Regions from separate parts of the Homo sapiens genome. Here all the other regions are linked to region 2. The links are contacts of gene promoters, found by promoter capture Hi-C in blood cells and fetal thymus (Javierre and others, 2016). All regions are on one chromosome and are shown on one strand. Each heading gives the region's core, a stretch centred on a gene start or on the middle of the fragment in contact. The rest is flanking DNA. Distances are from core to core; before and after follow the strand shown. Region 1 overlaps POU6F2 (POU class 6 homeobox 2). Region 2 holds the start of POU6F2 (POU class 6 homeobox 2). Region 3 overlaps POU6F2 (POU class 6 homeobox 2).

The links. Contacts are between HindIII fragments. The CHiCAGO score rates a contact against its expected background, and 5 or more counts as called.
Region 1: a fragment that was not itself captured here is called in contact with the fragment with the promoter of POU6F2 in region 2 in 1 of 17 cell types (M2 macrophages); the score reaches 5.9 in M2 macrophages.
Region 3: a contact is called between a fragment that was not itself captured here and the fragment with the promoter of POU6F2 in region 2, in 1 of 17 cell types (M2 macrophages). The highest score is 5.3, in M2 macrophages.

The regions. Positions count from the first base shown.
Region 1 is chr7:39,456,581-39,459,388 of GRCh38, forward strand. The region is part of intron 8 of POU6F2 (POU class 6 homeobox 2); the gene reads left to right. All of the region lies in intron 2 of LOC105375238 (a long non-coding RNA gene), which reads right to left. Among named protein-coding and RNA genes, the nearest start is that of POU6F2-AS1, 52 kb to the left of the region's middle. The HindIII fragment of the contact is 5,036 bases long and covers 1-2,808 here.
Region 2 is chr7:38,976,578-38,979,389 of GRCh38, forward strand. POU6F2 (POU class 6 homeobox 2) reads left to right here and starts at 1,332. Exons shown (of 10, transcript NM_001370959.1): 1 at 1,332-1,481. The coding sequence starts at 1,377. The HindIII fragment of the contact is 7,072 bases long and covers 859-2,812 here.
Region 3 is chr7:39,418,393-39,421,221 of GRCh38, forward strand. All of the region lies in intron 6 of POU6F2 (POU class 6 homeobox 2), which reads left to right. All of the region lies in intron 2 of LOC105375238 (a long non-coding RNA gene), which reads right to left. Among named protein-coding and RNA genes, the nearest start is that of POU6F2-AS1, 13 kb to the left of the region's middle. The HindIII fragment of the contact is 4,321 bases long and covers 1-2,829 here.

The DNA of each region.
Region 1 (2,808 bases), core at 263-2,762, 480 kb after region 2:
GGTAAAGCTAATGTTTATCTAGAAGTGGACCCCATTTTGAATGGGAAGACTTTTGTAGTCTCAGAACCCATGGAGCAAAACGGTAACAATAATATTTTGCCATCTGAGTTTTCTGGATAAGAACACTAATATAAAGAAATCTGAGTGTTCACCTCTGGCAGTCAACAAATTTTGCAGAGAGATGCTACTTTGTCCAATGGACCATCACCCTGTTTAAATTTCATAAGAATTTCTATTTTATCACGGAGCTAAGTAGAACCAGGAGAAAATACAAGAGTGGAAACTGTCAGAGGAAGAAGAAGGAATTCAGTTTCCTGGTGGAATAACTGTTTCTTGGGGGCCTCATGGAAGATACTGGGCTCAGTAGCCCAGGCTCCCATCCCTCTGAGCTTTAAAGTGAAAGTTTGATAATCCACACAACAGCATCAATGCACACAGACTAAAAGTCCACAGCTTCCTTTTCAACTCTTGTTATTGTCAGTGATCTGACAAAAAGCAGCCTGCACGATCACACATACGGATTTAGTTGATAGACTCAAGGAACTAGTAAGGACACATAAACAATAGAGACGGCAGAGGAAGGGAAGAAAGATTAGAGGACACATTTACATAAAATGTCAGCCCAAGTCATTGGGCTGCCGAATCCTGTGCCAGTGTCTGGTGGCAACACAGGCCTTGGGACTGGAGTAGACCATGGAAACCCTTCCAGATTAAAGACCTGCCCCTCACATACTGGTTAATCCAACTGAATCTCGCTGATCTAGAGATGGGGCTAACAAAGGCAAAAATTTTACTTTCCCAGCCCGCTGATTCCCAGATCTTGGCCACTTGCCATAAGTAGTGACAGTGGGGTAAGGAAAGGGCCAGGGTGGGATGCCTGCTCCGGAGCCCCTCCTCAACAGACCTGTCTGGCCCGTCAGTCCTATACAGGTGAGAGAGCAAGTTTTCTGTGTAGTGAAGCCTGCTGAATAATGGTAAAGGATCAGTAAAGACAATGGCACACAGAGTGCACCACACCCAGACTTGGTCAAGCCAGGGCCACAAAGAAAGATTTCTTTCTGTAGTTGTCAGCAGATCCCCTGCATCAGAATCGCTTGTGTTACTTGTTAAAAATGCACATCCCTGGGCCCAAAGCAGTGACTCTTATACCTGCCAAATTAAGAAAATCACAGTCCTAAAAGTGATATTGTTACATGGAACGTCTCCAGCTTTCCATCTTTTCAGTTTCAAACCTCCATGCTCACACCCTTGCAAGACTGCCAAACCCTTCTTCCCTCTCTCAGAGAGGCCAGACCCCTCTCTCACTGTACCATTCTGTACTCTCTGCTCTAAACCAGAGTTTCTCAGCTATTATTTTATTATCACCCCACTCCCCCTGCAAGCAGCATTTTTAGGTGTTTTGTTTTTATCTTAATTGCCCTCCTTCCTCCCCACCCCGCCCCCCCATAACATTTTAATACCACAGATATGTTGCACATCTGCCCTGTTGATGTACTATGGCCCTTTGGGGGACCACACCATTGTACTAAGACTTTTCCTGCCTCCCCCTCAGAACCAATATCAGCCTCACTGGAAACGCATGCTTTAAACGCAGGGTCACAAAACGGGCTGAGCAGGGAGCAGGTTGGAGGCTGGGTGGTGTGAACATGAGGAGGAGCTGAAGGAGCAGCCAGAATCAGTTCCAGCCCACTGGACATTACCAAGTGCAAATGTACATCCGGAGCAGCCAAATCTTCTAACATTCAGAAGAGTTTGGGAAATGAAGATTTTCCTTTAGAAATAAATGTTTACATGTTAGCAAGTGCTTTTTTTTTTATGTAAACACTAGGAAAGCTGGGTTTTATTTGCACACTGCTCATTTGCAACTTTTGCTCTAGGGATTTCTTTCACGGGGAAAGGAAAAAAGGGCTCGAGACTGCGACTGCCGAAGTGAGCTCCCACAATCCTTAGCGAGCCCGGAAGCAGCTCCAGGCTGATGTGCTCGTGGGGTTTGGAATCCAGAGCACAGCCTCCACTAGGGACGGCCCGAACAAATCTCATTAGCCAAGGGTTGCCTGCCTTCTGGGAGTAGTTTTGGGAGAAAAAAACAGGACTTCCATTCATCTTAACAGTCAAACCAATTTTATAGTCACTGCCCACCCCTGCCCCGCCCGAGCTCATAGATTCTCAGTGTGCTACACTGAAATATTCACTACTCCTAGCACGAACTCCTGCTTCACCCTACCAACCTGACAGGTCCCTACGGTGCCCTGCTCCTCCCTGCATTTCTGCCTGTGTGCACGCTGTCACCACTGACCAGACTATATGGCTCCTTCATTCTCTGAAAACTGCCCATTGGGAAGACCTAGATGAATCCTCCCTCCTCTCCACTCTCCTGTCTCTGCACACCCGGTGTGGATGTCATACCATTAGTTCTTGATTATACTCTGCCTGACACTTTTCTCTAATTGTTTCTAATGCATTAGCATTGGATGCCAACCCCCTATAGACTGTAAACTCCATAGAGGCTGGAACTGTTTCTGAGGCTGGAACTGCCCCTCCCTCCATTCCAGACTCCCAGAAGTTACTTTTCAAAAATAATTAGACTGATTGCAGTAGTTGTACCACTTTCCAATCTTTCTACAACAAAATTATGAGTAATGACATTCTACAGGACTTTTGTCGTTGTTGTTTTAATGTGAAGATAAAAGACAATCTATACCTGTTTTGCTGATTCTGTTGACAGAGTCCATTTTCCTCAGGCTGGAGAAGATCCCTCCCCAGTAATGAGAAAATCTGTACATGAAGCTCCAAGCTCCCCACAGATAT
Region 2 (2,812 bases), core at 82-2,581:
AACTGTGTGTGTGTCTGTGTCTGTGTGTGTGTGTTTGTGTGTGTGTGCGCGCGCGCTTCGGTCCTTCATTCTTTGCTCCTAAAGATTTCTTTAACAATGTTGAAAATTGTTTTGTTTTTTTTTTCTTACTTGAAGTTCCTTTTGATTAATTTTCAAGCCGTGGGTATTATGCAATAATATACATAATAGTATATATTCTGTATTAAATATTTCTCATTGCTACCCGACCTGTCATCAGTTTAGAGCCTTGAAAAAAATCTCCATTTTAATATTAACACAAGGTTTTCCCATAAATTTGTTTTGAAAAGTTAGGGAGAGTATACTAACTAATGAACTTCAGTTAAAAAGTAGGCAAATGAAAAAAAAAAAGAAAAAAAGTAGGCAAATGCGAATGTTCTTCACTGCCACAAAGCCACCAAGTTAACGGATGGTGTTTATGGGTTTGGGTTTTTGGAGAGCAACTTTACAATACCTGTAGGATTGTCTTGAAAGTCAGGTTCCGATCTTTAGCCTAAGAAGGTTAAAAAGTTGGTAAGTTATATTCTTTTCACCCTTAACAATAACTGACCCATAATGCATTAGCAATCTGTCCCTAGATTGTGAGGAATCAGATAGTTAAAATTAAATTTAGAAAGTTAAAATACTTGTCATCACATTAAAAACACATTACATCAGTTTAGATGAGCTGCAAGTAAATCATCCCTTACCTTTCAGAAGATAAAAAGTTTAGTGACTGCTATTTACACACTTTGAATATTTTATATTACAGTGGTCATCATCATTTACACGGATTATTTTCTATGTCCACTTCCAATTCACAAATATCAGGGTGTTTGTTATGTAGCAGTTCACATTTCAAGCTTCTCTGAAAAGGTGTCCTTATATAAAACAACAGAGATAACTGCATATTATCAAAAGGTCATTTAGAGATTTTAAAAATAAAATCATTAGGGACCCCTTAAGAAAAGTAGAGCAATGAACTGTAATTTTAAAAATGTATATAATAGCACAAAAATCAAAGTCTTAATGGACACTCATTTGAGATAGTTCATTTTGTTTTTGTTTTGTTTTAAACATAGATTTCTAGAGCATTAAAAACAATCCTCATAGGTTTGTTAAACCTTTAGCGGAAGATTACAGCCCATGTTTTTGTCTTTGGTGAATAGCTGTTTGTCTCACTTTATTTACTTGGTATTGGATATTTGTCAATGTCATTTCATATCTACAGAAAATTCTTACGCTCTGTGGAGGTAGTGAATGTGTGTGTGCGTGTCTGCCGGAGGTCACATGACGGTTTCATTCTATTTGGTGGAGCAGCTTGACTTTTTTTCCCCTTGCTTTTGGTGATGGTTGTGAGTGCAGAAGTTGATTGACAGATGCATGCCAGAAACCCCCATTCTCCTTTTCAAAGACAACATATGATGGATTGCTATCTCTCAGCGCAGCAGGACACGGGGACCATGCAAGCTGTAATTGGTCAGGTATGGAGTCAGCCATTTCTCAACTCCCCTTTTTTCCACAAGGGTCTCACCATATGATTCACATAATTCATATTTACAGTACCATCTTTCTATCTGTATCTTCAGCTACCTGCCAGTGTAGTGCTGAAAGTGCGAAAGGCAAAAGGCACCCATTAAATCTGACCAGGGAAACCTCAGCTTAAAACTTCAATGCGATCCTTTTAAACAAAAACTAAAACAACAACAAAAACACTGGAGAATAAATCTAATTTATAATTTGGTCTGAATGTTTCTTAAAAATCTATTTTAGAAATTTGCTTTCTTTTTGGATTTTGATCTCTGAAAGAAAGTGCGAGAAGAGAATCAAGTGTGGTTTCCTAGGTAGTAGTTAATATTTTTCTAATGCTGTTCAATATTTTTATTTTGACTGTGCTCTCTCCTTCTCTCTTTCTCTCCCTCTCTCCCTTTCTCCATATGGGAAATATAAATATATAAATACATGTGCCTTGACTTCTAACCCAGATAATGTGTGATTGAGCCCGGTAAATGTAGTAGTAGTCTTGGCTGCTGCAGAAGGGCAGGCTGCAAATTAAACACTGTCACAATCTTGAAAGGTCCAGGTGGTCTGCTCGCGCTTCCTAATGCAATCCAGCACAGCAGCTTTAATAAACAGCTCCATTTAGTGCCTCCTCCTTGTATCTAGGGAGGTGAGCTGGTCTGGGGCTGCTGTGATGAAATGCCAGAAGAATATCTCTCAGAGGCCTCACAAGCTGATTTTTAGAGCTTTCCCGCTCTGTCGTCTTTGTCTTCCAAATGGGTCAGTGAATCTTGCTCTTTCTGTTTGGTGCTTTCCGTGAAGTCAGTAGTTTATGTTTGTGTTAAAATGTTTGCGTTGTAAGCTAAATCAGAAAACGAAAAGGATCATTGTATTTTCATTTGCCTTCAGATAACTAAAGTGGTGGAAGGAAGGATAGTACCCTCCTGCAAAGGGAGGGTGATTTTTCTGACTATGATGGGGGTGGGGTAAGGAAAAAGGAAATATACATGGTTTCTTTTCTTTTTTGTAATGTATTTTTGACTAAATTTTTCTAAGTTATCTATGTTTACTTATGGATTGTTAACTCATAAACCAGACTATGGTCACGAATATTTATAAACTCCTAAAAGTTTTTTTTTTTGTACACTTTCCAATCAAGACAAGCTGGCAAGGCAATGACATAAAATTTGTTTGCTTTATGTTAATAGCATGGTGGAAAATATATCATCTTATTCTGTTTTCAACAAAATTATAGAAAAGCACTTCAGGGTTCTGAAAGCACATGGTTTATTAATACCAGCATGCTTGCTTCATA
Region 3 (2,829 bases), core at 4-2,503, 440 kb after region 2:
CAGAAAAGTTAAACAGGTCAGGCACGGTGGCTCACGCCTGTAATCCCAGCATTTTGGGAGGCTGAGGCAGGCAGATCACTTCAGGTCAGGAATTCGAGACCAGCCTGGCCAACATTGTGAAACCATGTCTCTACTAGAAACACAAAAATTAGCCAGGTATAGAGGCAGGCACCTGTAGTCCCAGCTACTTGGGAAGCTGAGGCAAGAGAATCACTTGAACCCAGGAGGCGGAGGTTGCAGTGAGCTGAGATCGCACCATTGCACTCCAGCCTGGGTGACAGAGTGAGACTCTGTCTCAAAAAAAAAAAAAGAAAAAGAAAGAAAAGTTAACCAACTTTCCAGAGCCATACAGTAAATGATAGAGCCTGGATTTGAGCCCAGATCTGGCTGCTTTGAAGCCCAGCTTTCCTCTGAAGCAAAGCTGCTTTCAGCATAACGTGTGTAAGTGCCTAATACAGTGCCTACCATATAGTAGTCATTTCATAAATATAGTGCTCTCTTCATGTGTGTGTGTGTGTATATATATATGTATATATGTATATATGTGTATATATGTATATATGTATATATATGTGTATATATGTATATATATGTGTATATATGTGTATATATGTGTATATATGTATATATATGTGTGTATATATACATATATATGTATACACATATATACACATATATACACACATATATACGTATATGTGTATATATACACATATATACGTATATATGTGTATATATACACATATATATACGTATATATGTGTATATATACACATATATATACGTATATATGTATATATTTTTTAACCCACTCAGGGTGGCTGATCTAAAGTAGAGTCTGTTTGGGTTTTTTGCTTGTTTTTTGGGACTGAATCTCACTCTGTCGCCCAGGTTGGAGTACAGTGTTGCCATCTCTGCTCACTGCAACCTCTGCCTGCTAGGTTCAAGCGATTCTCCTGCCTCAGTCTCCTGAGTAGCTGGGATTACAGGCACGCACCATCACGGCCCACTAATTTTCGTATTTTTTAATAGAGATGGAGTTTCACCATGTTGTCTAGGCTGGTCCCAAACTCCTGACCTCAAGTGATCCGCCCACCTCAGCCTCTCAAAGTGCTGGGGTTACAGGAGTGAGCCACCATGCCTGGCCTAAAGTAGGGTCTGTTTAATATATTGAAGTTTTATGTGGATATGCTTTTAAGTGGGTCATCCAGCATTACTATATCTCATGAAAATGGCAATTGTTTATTTAGTTAACTCACTTCAATTGTTTTAACAGCTAACATTTTGGGGTTGTTGTAAAAAGTAAAAGTAACAAAGGATGTTAAATCCTTGGCACTCGCATCTGTCTTGAAACCCATGGTCCCGCCAGCATGCAGAGAAGACCAGTTTGATGATTTTGAGTCAGCTGCCCACACATTAGTGACCGGGTAAGCTGGACAATCTTGTTTTCTTCAGATTAGCAGCAGCAGCAGCAACAGGCTAGATGATGCCTAGCTTGCCTCTATGACATGACTATGTGGCTGCTAGACATAATAGCATTCACTTTTCTCCGTAACAAAATGTTGTAATTTATTTAATCAAAAGGCAGGGCCACAGAGATATTACCTGCTAGGCTCATTTAACAACTGTTGATTTCCTCTGATGGTCTAGAATGAAAACATTCCCATCTGCCTTCAGTAAATCTGCAAGTAATGTCAGCAAACTATCCTAGATAACCAAAAGGAAGGAACAAATAACATGGACAAAACCAAAAATCTGTTTTAAATTCACATGGAATTTGAAGATTTTCTTGCAAGTTTAGAATGGAAGCCTTCTTTATATGAGGATCTTCTCAGTATTACTGGGTTATAAAAGAACTATTTAGGATTTTTAATACAAAGGGTAACATTACTGAAAGAAAGAATGTTTATGTTTAAAAGGTGATACACAAATTCCTTAAATGAACACAAAAGGAAATGACATAGTGTGCTACTCCAGACTCTGAGAATTCATTTTGATTTCTGAGACCATAAAATCATACACATTTCTAAATATTTGAAAAGTAGAGTTTCTGCCCCTCTAGGCTCACATGGAGATAAGGCAGTAGAAATGGGAATAGTATCTATGGTTTTGCACATCTAGACTGGTTCCTGAAATCCAGAACCTAGGTGAATCAGAAAGTACTAAAAACTTACCTTCTCAGAAACCAAATATGATACTACAAACATTGCTTAAAATGCTCCAATTTTTTTAGCAAAGTTAAATAGATTTTTTTAAATTCTGAGTTATGGATTAAGTTAATGGTTTTGTAGCTAAACATGTCAATGGATCTTTGATGTAAGTATCATTATTCCACCTTTTCCATTACTTAATAATATATAGGGCTAGTCTATGAATGATATCATCTGGCAAGGCTGTGAGACATGTTCCTGACAAGGCTGTACTTTGAAACTAACTTTTGAGATTAAAAATGCCAAAATTCATGCTATCAGCATAAATTATAAATTATTGAGCTTAAAACAGGACAGTCAGAAAATCATTACATTTATCGATTGGTTTATTAGCAATAAGAAATCATATTTCACAAGGACCAAATTTGAAGTGCCTTGCAAATACTCTTTTTCTGAGGGACATTTAAAGTAGGAATTAGAAAACTATGAGAAACCACAATTGGAAGAGTATATCCAGCCCTCTTTCCATACATCTATCAAAAACTGCCTAATCATTAGGGATAAGGCTGCAGATTGTTCACCTATGAAAATGGGGATGCAATTTTACGAGAAAAACTCATCAGCGTAATTCTTATGAGTTACGGTCTTTGTTGTGAGAAATGAGAAATTCTGTGGTCTC